3 separate regions of the Homo sapiens genome follow, and all the other regions are linked to region 3. Evidence: promoter capture Hi-C in 16 types of primary human blood cells and fetal thymus (Javierre and others, 2016). All regions are on one chromosome and are shown on one strand. Each heading gives the region's core, a stretch centred on a gene start or on the middle of the fragment in contact. The rest is flanking DNA. Distances are from core to core; before and after follow the strand shown. Region 1 has its middle 42 kb from the start of REG3A. Region 2 has its middle 61 kb from the start of REG3A. Region 3 holds the start of REG3G (regenerating family member 3 gamma).

Region 1 (3,844 bases), core at 1,344-3,843, 180 kb after region 3:
ACTAGTCAGTTTGTGCTTCTCTAACAAAATACCATAGACTAGGTGACTTAAACAACAGAGATTTACTTCTCACAGTTCTGGAGTCTGGGTAGTCCAAGAACAAGGTGCCAGCTGATTCAGTTTTTGGTGAGGGTCCTGTTCCTGGCTTATAGAACTTAGACTCCTAAATTCAAGTGATCCTCCCATCTCAGCCTCCTGAGTAGCTGGGACTACAGATGGTTGCACAATTTTTAGTTGTTCTTAAAAGAAAGATTGTGTGATGTACCATAACGGAAATCTAATTCCCTTTTCCCTGTAACCTAAATTTCATCTACCTTGATATCAACACATCTTCAATGCTTCTGCCACCACTTTCTTTAATTTTATGCAAGAATAGTTCAATTGAGACGTAGAGAATGAGACAGAGAGAGAGAGAGAGAGAGACCACTCTCTAGTCTTTTCTCATGGCAGTACTAATCCCATCATGAAGGTATCAGATTAAGAAAGTATCCTGCCTGTAATCCCAGCATTTTGGGAGGCCAAGGAGAGTGGATCATTTGAGGTCAGGAGTTTGAGACCAGCCTGGCCAATATGGTGAAACCCCACCTCTACTAAAAATACAAAAGTCAGCAGGGCTTGGTGGCGGGCACCTGTAGCGTCAGCTACTCTGGAGGCTGAGGCAGGAGAATCGCTTGAACCTGGAAGGAAGAGGTTGCAGTGAGCCGAGATTGCGCCACTGCACTGCAGCCTGGGCAACAGAGAGAGACTCCGTCTCAAAAAAAAAAAAAAAATTAGACAAAAAATCAGATAACACAATACAAAAGCAAGCAACTTAAGATCTGAAACAAACTTGTCTATTTACACTTTTGGGGTTCCATAAGGAAAAACAGAGATTTCTCCGCAAAACGGAGTCTGGCACCTTCTCCATTTTCTGTAAGGAATTGCAGGCTATTATAAATTATTTTAGGTTCCTTATACAGCAGAGGGTGACAAGAGAAAGGAGAAACAGCAGAAGTAAATGAAGGAAACAGAATTCATTCAATTGAGGAAAAAGCAAACAAACAAACAAAAACTCTTGTTCAAAAAGGCAAGGTCCCAGGAGAAAACAAAAACAAACCATGAAGGCCTTTTAATACAAACACACAGGCACACATACACACACATCTTGGATGTTACATTTGCATTAAGCTAATCCATTGAGCTCCTTGAAAAAAAAAACTTTTTAAATCTCATTACCATATTTTAGCAAAGACAAATTGCCAATATTTCGGAAGTAATAAGTATCAAATCTGAAAGGGTTTGATTTAGAAACCAAACCCAGGCTATTGTGGTAAAGAAGAAAAAAAACAGATGTCAGAACCTTAGCTATGAAACTACAATGTGGGGCAACAGCTATTGCTCTTTCAGTTTGACTTGGCTAGCAAAAAGATGGCCTTGTTATGTAAATAAAACCCCTTAAGTAATCAAAATAAAACATTTCCCCCCCCCTTTTTTTGTGGAAATTTAGCCACATCAGAGGCTTTGTTCCCCTTGAATTGGAACTTTCCTTCAGATTTCGTCAAGTCAGATAGAGCTGGTCAAATGCAATGGGAAAAAGACTGAAACAATAAAAACAGAAACAAACAAACAACAACAAAAACAGTTAAGCAAAACAAATGATCACACAATTTATATAATTACTGAGCACTCTAATGGTAAGGAGAAATTAAGACCAGCTGGTTGTTCATCTTAACTTTAGCCAAGACAAAACCCCAATTCAGCTACTTACCTGAGGATGGGTCTCAGGCTGAAGACTGCTCTCTACCATCCTAGAAGCAGGAAAAAACTCAAATTCACCTTCCTTCCCTGTTGGAAATGAGCTCGAATTCCAGAAAGAAGTTACCTGCCTTCCATTGTCGTGGAAGCAGGAAAGCTTGCCTTCCTTGTTGGAAGGAAGTAAAGCTTCTTCCAACAAGAGTTGGAAATAAAAATTATTTTTCCTAGCAAAATAATCTTTAAATATTGACCAGATTTTGGGAGATCAGGGATTCTCTGGAGGGGGAGCTTCCAGGCCTCAGCAAATTGTCCTACTGGTTTGAGCCATAAAGAAACTCAAGCTGGTACCAAGCCCTAATAGGAGATTTCTCAAAGGTCAGCAGCTCTTCCACTCAGAATCCCTTCGTGGTTAGCAAAATGTGAACCCCAAATATATGAGATGGGTCTCAGTCAATTTATAGTGTTTATTTTGCCAATGTTAAGGATATGCCCATGACATAGCCTCAGGAAATCCTGAGACATGTACCCAAGGTGATCAGTGGTACAGTTTGCTTTTATACGTTTTAGGGAGACATGAGACATCATTCCATATGTGTGAGATGTACACTAGTTCAGTCCGGTAATATGGGACAACTTGAAGTGGGAGCTTCCAGATTAGAAGTAGATAAGAGACAAATGATTGTAATCTTTTGAGTCCTTGATCAGCCTCCATTGAATACACAATTTACTCCAGCTCAGTGAATCTGCATTTTTACATAAATGATTAGCAGAGGAAGCAATGACACATGCATTTGTCTCAGGTAAGCCTCAGAGGGATGACTGAATAGAATGGGAAGCAGGTTTACCTTAAACAGTTCCCAGCTTGATTTTCTTCTTTAGCTTGGTGATTTTGGAGTCTCAAGATTTATTTTCCTTTCACAGTACTCTCAGTCAGATTTCAAAAAAGATAATTTCCACACACTTGTTTTTTTATTTTTTTTATTTTTTTTATTTTTTTGAGACAGGGTCTCACTCTGTCACCCAGGCTGAACTGAAGTGGTGCAATCACAGCTCACTGCAGCCTTGGATTCTTGAGTTCAAGTGATCCTTCCACCTCAGCCTCCCAAACATCTGGAACTACAGGCAGTTGCAGATTTTAGTTGTTCTTAGAAGAAAGATTGCGTGAATGCACCATATCAGAAACCTAACTCCGTTTCCCCTGTAACCTAAATTTCAGCTCCCTTGGTATCAACACATCTTCAATGCTTCTGTCACCATTTTCTTTAATCCTATGAGAGAATAGCTCAATATTACATCCCTTGTACTAGGTGAAGTTCCCTCAATGTTTCCATACATTTTGGGGGTGGAAGGGCTTATGGTTCTACGTTTCTTTGTTTGTTTGTTTGTTTGTTTTGTCTTTACTACAGTCTGCATCTCTCTCCCACAAGCCCAGCCATTGTTCTCACATGGCTCTAGCCATGAAAGATAGCATCTCCATATTTCATCCCCAAAAGGGTCACAAATTCAAAGCTGTGGGTGCAGTTGCTTTTAACAAAGCTTTGAGGTGAAAGAAGAGGGTCCTGAAGCATAGTAAACAGAGATCAATGTAGTTTACCAGTAGATCCGAATGGATTTAAAGTTCTTTAACTCCTTTCTTCCATGTAGAATTTCTCAGTTGACAGCTTATCTTTCTTCCCTGCCATTTTCCTCACTACTACTCTCTTCTCTCGCCTTCCCTGCCACCTCCATCATCTCTCATTTCTTCCCCATCCCCACAGGTAGCCAAGTTGTTGGGACTCTCCTATTGCTTCCCACAGCTCTGGGGTTGCATGTTTTCTCCTCTTTGAAAGTTGGCAGTCCCCAAATCTCCAAAATCCTGTTCATTTCTAATGAAGAACTGTTTAAATCTCACTCCAGTTATTATTTTAAACTAAGCGCAGATCCAAATTCATTAGAAAATAATATTCAGAAAATGGCAAAATCATGACTCATATAAATGAAACATATGTTAAAGATTTTATTTAACTCATATAAAGGAACTAGTTCAAAGTAAATGTCAAAAAGCACAAACATATAGAGTCAAGAAATCGAATTACAAATGGAGGGAAAAAGACTTTTTCCACAGTGGGGA
Region 2 (3,677 bases), core at 304-2,803, 190 kb after region 3:
ACAAATCACGGATCTTGGAAACTGCGTTGGTGATAATAATTATGCATAATTATGAGTGTATTCTGCTTTAAAGTTTTTCAAAAAGTGAATTACCAGAATCTTTCAGACATTGTGTAACTTTTTGCTAAAGTTCAAAAACTTATACTGTTTTTATGGCAATTTTTGATTGATACTTGTTTTCTAATCTTGGGAGAAAAATGGAAAATAAAGGAAAGTTCTAAAAGGAAAATAAAATCCTCCATAATTTTACCACTCATAGTTAATCTCTGGTAATATTATGATGTCTTTCTTTCTATGCAAGGGTGTGTGTATGTATGTATAGTACAAAATTGCCACATTTTGAATGATATATTTCATATTTGTATTTATACATATGTAAACGCCTTTACTTCCTCCTATTTTTTCCCTAAAATTGTACCATGAGCATCCTTCACATTCTAAGAAAACATTATTCTTAATGGCTATGTAATATTTCATTATATCATTTATATCACAATTTAGATGACCAATATTCTGTTGCTGAACATTTAAATGTTTCCATTTGTTCAGTGTTATAAATTATAGAAAGAATCAGAATCAGCACTTTCTAAAGCCTCCACTCTTTTTAAATGGGAAAACAATCTAATTTAAAACTTTGTGAAAATGGAAATGTTTTATTTCGCACCGTCCTATAGAGTAGCCACTGCCCTCATGTGACTATTGAGTTCTTGATATGTGGCTGGTGCAACTGAGGAATTAATTCTTTTTATTTTACCTTAGTTTAATAAATTTAAATTTAAATAGCCATATGTGGCTAGTGACTACTTTATTTGTTAAACTTGTGAGGTTAAGGTCACTTTAAGGATCTGCTTGTACGCAGGAATACCGCCATCTTGTGGCCTGTTAGAATATGGCCTCGAAAATTGAAACCAAAGTGCATTTACACCTGCAAGCACCCTGGAAGTGGTAAATCCATGATATTCGTGGATCATAAAAGCTCAATTCGTAGCTTATATAAAGTATCTGCAAGCTTAAAGATTGCAGTTGCTAAAACACACCATGGAACAGGGCAAATGAATTTGCAGAGGAGAAACAGTGAGTGCCTGGGCTAACTCTGAGAATAAGTGTGTCTTTGCCATTTGGGATAGAGACATCCTTTTGGTGACCCTTTCGTGAACAGCAAGAATCTCTAGGACCTTTTGGCACCTGAAATTCATCCTTTCTTCCTTTGTTCTGCTATTCGAAAGCGCTCTTTGCTTTAAAGTGCTACAGATACTCGTATCCTCCTAGGAGTTTTCCTATTCATCTTCACATATGTCTATTGATATTGCCTGCTCTGCAGATTCACTCTGCATTTTTGTTAGAGTTTTGTTGTAAATTCTAGTATATTTTGCACTTTCTTTGACTGATTCAACTCTTAATCAGCGCTTCCCCCAAATCTAACCCACAATTCTCAAAATTGGCCGTATATATATGTATGTGTGTGTGTGTATATATATATGTGTGTGTGTGTGTATATATATGTAAATGTATATTGAATAGATGAGTTCTGAGTGATTCAAAGGGTGGGAAAATTAAGATCTCTTATTCCAACTAAGTTTGGAACTAATTAAGAGATTGCTAATGGTGGAAGGCAGATGAAGACAAAAACATCCACTTTATTACTGGCAGAACTGTTTACAAGTGTGGCTTTGTGGTGCAGGAATGATAGAAATTCTAACACTGAATCCCAGAAGTAGACTTTCTACCACCTCAACGAGCAGCTCCAGGAAGCCTCAGGCCTCCTCTGGGGTGGGTCCCTGTAAGAATTACAGGCCACAGAGACAGGCCACAGGAGTGCATGTTGTGGGCAGGTGGCCCAAGTGAGAAGGGCCAGATGGAGGAGGCAAGGAGGGCGATACAAGATTGTTTAGAGTAAGCAGATGGGCATTGTACATTCTCTACATGACAAGGTATTCTACTTTGGTAGAAAACCTTAAAGGTTGGCCAGATTGTCTAGGGAAAAATCTCTCCTCATAGAAACTGGGAAATTGAAAAAAAGTATCCACCCTCATAGAAATCAATAAGTTATATTCTAGCATGACCTTAGCCAAATTTTTAACTGTTTCACCAAATAATTAAAGCTTCACCTGAGAGCTGTAGGAAAGATAAACAGGTATGTATTTATCTTTGTACAACTCTGCACACATTGTTAATCTTTCTCAATCGGAAGGGATCATAGATTAGGTGATAATAATAAATACTGAGAAATAAACAAGCAATAAACATTGAGATTGAACTCATGTTTCTCAAAATGCTGCTTCAGTGTGTTGGGAGACTTTGTTAACTCAGCAGTGACTTCTAGTGCAAAAACATTATCTTATAAAATTTCTAGAAAGCAAGTCAATTACGAAATAAAGGAACAAATTCAATAATTTTATTACAGCAATAATAATAAGCTAAAAAAAATCTCAAATTTGTTTTGTTTTTGTTGTTGTTTTGACACAAGGTGTTGCTGTGTTGCCCAGGCTGGAATGCAGTGGCACAAACACTGCTCACTGCTGCAGCCTCAAGCTCCTGGGCTCTGGCGATCTTCCTGCCTCAGCCAAGTAGCTGGAACTACAGACCTGTACCTCCATGCCTTCCTAAATTATTTTTGTTTTGTTTTGCAGAGATGGAGCCTTGCTATGTTTCCCAGACTTGTCTCAAACTTCTGGCCTCAATCCTCCCTCCTCGACTTCCCAAAGTCCTGGGATTACAGGCATGAGCCACTGCAGCTGGCAAAAATATAAATTTCTAACTGTAGGAATTCACTCTAAGGGTATACTTGCAGTTGTACTTAACAGTTTATTATGGTGATATTTATCACAGAAATGTTTATAATCATCCTCATAAAATGATAGCCTTAGGAGATCTTTTTAATGTGCTAGCTTGGCAAATTTTTTTTTTTTAAAAAACTGACAAGTCTGTATTGTCTCCAGTAGCAAAGACTCACTAGCCCATGAAACAATAAGTCTAAGAATAAATTTATTAGATCTATTAATATATCCCTCTAAGACTTGGTATTAGAGATAAAAGTTTGTATCTATATGGCTTATAGGCAACCCAGTCACAGATAATCTTCTCTAGTGAGAAAAGGTGCCAGGAAATTCACTTTGATTTGAGTCATTGAATGTGAGAACCTCTCTACCACCAGCCCAGGAGGGTACCTGAGGACACTTGTGGTCATGGAAGATAACGGCTCTCAGAAGTGTAGAGGGTATAGGCTGTGTGGCTATATAGTACTACTACTCAAAGAAAGGATTTAATGAGGCCTTTTCTGTGTCCAGAGATTAAATGAAAAAGCTGCCCAGCCCCTGGCATGGATCTCTGGGAAGAGATGGAAATGGTGCCCCATTCCAGGAGAGAGTTCTCAGAACTGGCTGTGTTCAGAGAGCCCCGTAATTGGGAGTCAAAGCATGCTGCTTCTCTGATTAGACCCAGCACCAGGACCAGGATTATAACACAAATGCCTCGAGACACCAGGCAGGCGATATAAAGGCTTCTATGAGGCTGTGTGTAAAACACAGACATTAATATTAGCCATGAAATGTGTGTTGTCAAATAAACCACTACTGAGGGTCAGATTTGGCACACAGGTGGCCAGTTTATGACCCTTGACTGAGGGAATGAGTTCATCCTTCTTCTGTAGGAATCCTTCTGCAGGAATCTGGTTCAGA
Region 3 (3,463 bases), core at 952-3,451:
CTTAACAATTTTGTTCTTTTAAAATGACTATATATTTTTTTCCCTTTTAACTTCTGAACTTGGAAATTGCATTAATAGTTCATCATAATAAACTATCATTACATTTCCAAGATTAACTCTTCTTTCTCTTCATTTATTATATAAAACAATGAATTCAATTTGTTTTGTGTTTTGTTCAGGAACTTTGCATCTGTGTTCTTGAGTCAGATTGTCCTTCAAATTTCTTTCTCACGATGGCCCTGAATTTTTCTTTTTCTCAAAATTTTCCACCAATATTTTAGATAAAAACCCAAAGACAATAGTGTTATGAATCATTATGTACCTACCACCAAGCAACAACTCTCATGACCTCAAGTCCTCTCTTGTTTTATCTGTCTCTCTCTTTCTTTATCTCTATCATGCTTGATTATTTTGAAGTAAATTCTGAATAACCATTTCATCTGTAAATATTGTGTTATGTATCTTAAATGATAAGGATACTTTAAATAATATTATTTCAATATTATAATTACATCTGAACATGATATAGTCCTTTAACATTATCAAATGCTCACTTTTACCCAATTGTTTTATAATTATATTTTTTATTTAATTTGTTCAAATCAAGATCCAAACATGGTTCACACATTTTATTTGATTGATATATTTTTCACATGTTAAGAGTGAGATGTTGTTTTATTTCCTTAAATTCACTTGCTGGGGAAATGTACTTATTTGTCCTGTAGAATTTCCCACCTTCTAAATTTTGCTGATGGTATTCCTGTGTTGTAATATAATACCATCCCCATGTCCTATATTTTCTGGAAATTGCCAGCTAGATGTTAACCAGAGATCTCAAACTGTTTTGATCTCAGGACCCTTTAACACTCTTAAAAAATATTGAGGACACTCGAAAAAAAATTTTGTTCATGTGAGCTATTGATATTTATAATAATATATAGTAAAAGAGAAAAGTTAAAAATATTCATTTACTAACTCACTTTGAACTTTTTTGAAAACATGTTAACAAAAGACCCATATGTCAGTAAGTGAAGTTTGTCTTGGTTTATTTTTCAAGTAAAAATGGTGTTCCATGAAATAGTGAACTAAAACTCAGTGTTACAAATTATTTCCCTCAAGACAACCATTATACTTTAGCATGTCAGCTTCCCATTTAGTCATACAGAATATTCCCTCTAGATGTATTCAAGGGTTGAGATTTACTGAAGCCAATTCACTACCCTGATTCATCAAGTTCAAGGGCATTTTCAAGTAAAAATGGCTTTATTTTGTTTCTTGCAAGTGCGTGGATATGAGCAATGCAATTTGGTGCCACTGCCTTGATTGATGTTAAGGCACCAGAACTTCTATCCACCATTTATTTTGCCTCATCAGTGCAAATGTCAACATAGCGAAAATGACGAATAACACTTTAGTATAATTATGAAAATTATAACTGCACAACCACTCCAAACAGGCCCTGAAGACCCCCATTGGTGTGTAGATCACAATCTAAGAACGCTACTCTGAGATATCAAACTGTCAGCGCAGAACTACAATAAACCAAGGAACTATCTCTTGGTCTTCTCACACAAAGGTAGCTGGAAGGCAAATCTATTTAACTGCTGTTCCATAAGACCCTGGCTTGCCTAATGACTCACAAGATTATTTCAAGCTTCTTTTACATCTTGCTGTGAAGTTGAAGTAGCAACACTGAACCAGTGCTGCTGCTTCTGGTTTCTATTGTTTCTTTATTTCGACTAATACATTGTCTTTGCCAACACATCTAATTTTAATGCCCACCCAATTTTTATTTATTAATTTATTTTAAATGTTACTAGATAAGGTATAAAGGAATTCATATGTATGCCTATAGAAGTGAGCTCCTGGCACGTTGATCAAAAACAAACTTTTGACATTTCTCATAACTATGTAATATCATAATATTTTCTAAACTATATAATACCAGGCTCACAAGACTGCCTTTATTCCCTTAAGTTTCTCAGAAGAAGATATCTGGAAGAGGGTGGGAAAAGTGCAAACTTCAACTGTTTGTGGGGAAAGTGCCGGCCTGCTACAGAGAAAAAGGCAACATCTGTAACAATTCCCAGCCTTTGCCAGGAAGAGTCTCCTCCCCTTGGCATAATCTTTTTGAACCAATGCCAAGCCCTCTCCATGACCCCTGTCCCGCCTACATATTGCCGTTATTCACTCCAGTGACCATCCCTGAGATCTTTTTATAAAAAACCCAGTCTTTGCTGACCAGACAAAGCATACCAGATCTCACCAGAGAGGTAAGTGGGAGCTGAGAGAAGATGAGACCTGTGGAAGGGCAACCTCACATAATACAGGAGAACGCATGGGAGGGTCCCTTCCTCAGGGAGCACAGGAGCTCTGAGACTCAGCAAGGCTGTACTGGGAGGTCTCAGGGATGGGTGAGTACACAGATTCACAGCTCATTCAGAACTGTAGAAGATGATGAATGTGACCAAGATCACTTCAGTCCTAGGGGACTACAGAAGGAAAAAGACAAGAGGCAGTAGGATATCTGTGTGTCCTCCCGCTGACCACACTTCCTTTAGTGACCCGATTGCCTCCTCAAGTCGCAGACACTATGCTGCCTCCCATGGCCCTGCCCAGTGTGTCCTGGATGCTGCTTTCCTGCCTCATTCTCCTGTGTCAGGTTCAAGGTGAGATTTCTCTGCCTCTAGCACTGGGTTCCCTATGAATCCTCAGAGCCAAGAAAAGGAGGAAGGCTCCTGTGTGTCACGTGAGGTAATGACGTGGTGTCTAATGAAACTGCCTGCAGTTCCTGCATCATCACTCCTTCCTTCATGTTAACTTGCAGTGGGAGGCTCCACTGTGGTCCACTAACAATGGAATGAGATGGCTTCCATTTAGTCAGTGGACTCTAATATACACTGGTGGGAAAGTGTGGAGGGTCAGCAATGAGATGTGGGGAGGGACAATGATTGGAGGACCCAATATAGAGATAGCCCACAGTGAAGAGAGTGTTGAATGGTTGAATAAGGGGAAAGGGTAATAACAGACTAGATGGTGGCCCATTTAGTAGGGCTATTTTGAGATAAAGAACTTCTGAAAACACAAGGGAAGATGAAGAGCTGTCAGGAATGTGGTCTTCCTCCCCAAGGGCAGACCTAGATATTCCCCAAGGTCATCTCCCACCCACCCCCTACTCTTCATTTTACTCTCTCCCTTTTCTTCCACCCCAGGTGAAGAAACCCAGAAGGAACTGCCCTCTCCACGGATCAGCTGTCCCAAAGGCTCCAAGGCCTATGGCTCCCCCTGCTATGCCTTGTTTTTGTCACCAAAATCCTGGATGGATGCAGATGTGAGTGGTTAGATGTGGGGTTGGAGGTGATAGGGGAAAGTCCATGCAGGTCTCAGGGGGAGGAGGGTCTCCTTCAGGAGAGTTCCTTGGGAATGAGGATGAACACGCTTATCTTTCACACAGTCCTCCTCC

What was found. Contacts are between HindIII fragments. The CHiCAGO score rates a contact against its expected background, and 5 or more counts as called.
Region 1: a fragment that was not itself captured here is called in contact with the fragment with the promoter of REG3G in region 3 in 1 of 17 cell types (naive B cells); the score reaches 6.5 in naive B cells.
Region 2: a fragment that was not itself captured here is called in contact with the fragment with the promoter of REG3G in region 3 in 1 of 17 cell types (naive B cells); the score reaches 8.0 in naive B cells.

What each region holds. Positions count from the first base shown.
Region 1 is chr2:79,199,630-79,203,473 of GRCh38, forward strand. It overlaps a transcript of CTNNA2 not described here. Among named protein-coding and RNA genes, the nearest start is that of REG3A, 42 kb to the left of the region's middle. The HindIII fragment of the contact is 1,350 bases long and covers 1,919-3,268 here.
Region 2 is chr2:79,218,708-79,222,384 of GRCh38, forward strand. It overlaps a transcript of CTNNA2 not described here. Among named protein-coding and RNA genes, the nearest start is that of REG3A, 61 kb to the left of the region's middle. The HindIII fragment of the contact is 1,093 bases long and covers 1,008-2,100 here.
Region 3 is chr2:79,023,501-79,026,963 of GRCh38, forward strand. It overlaps REG3G (regenerating family member 3 gamma), which reads left to right and starts at 2,202. Exons shown (of 6, transcript NM_001008387.3): 1 at 2,202-2,273; 2 at 2,483-2,669; 3 at 3,213-3,331. The coding sequence starts at 2,594. The HindIII fragment of the contact is 2,965 bases long and covers 1,653-3,463 here.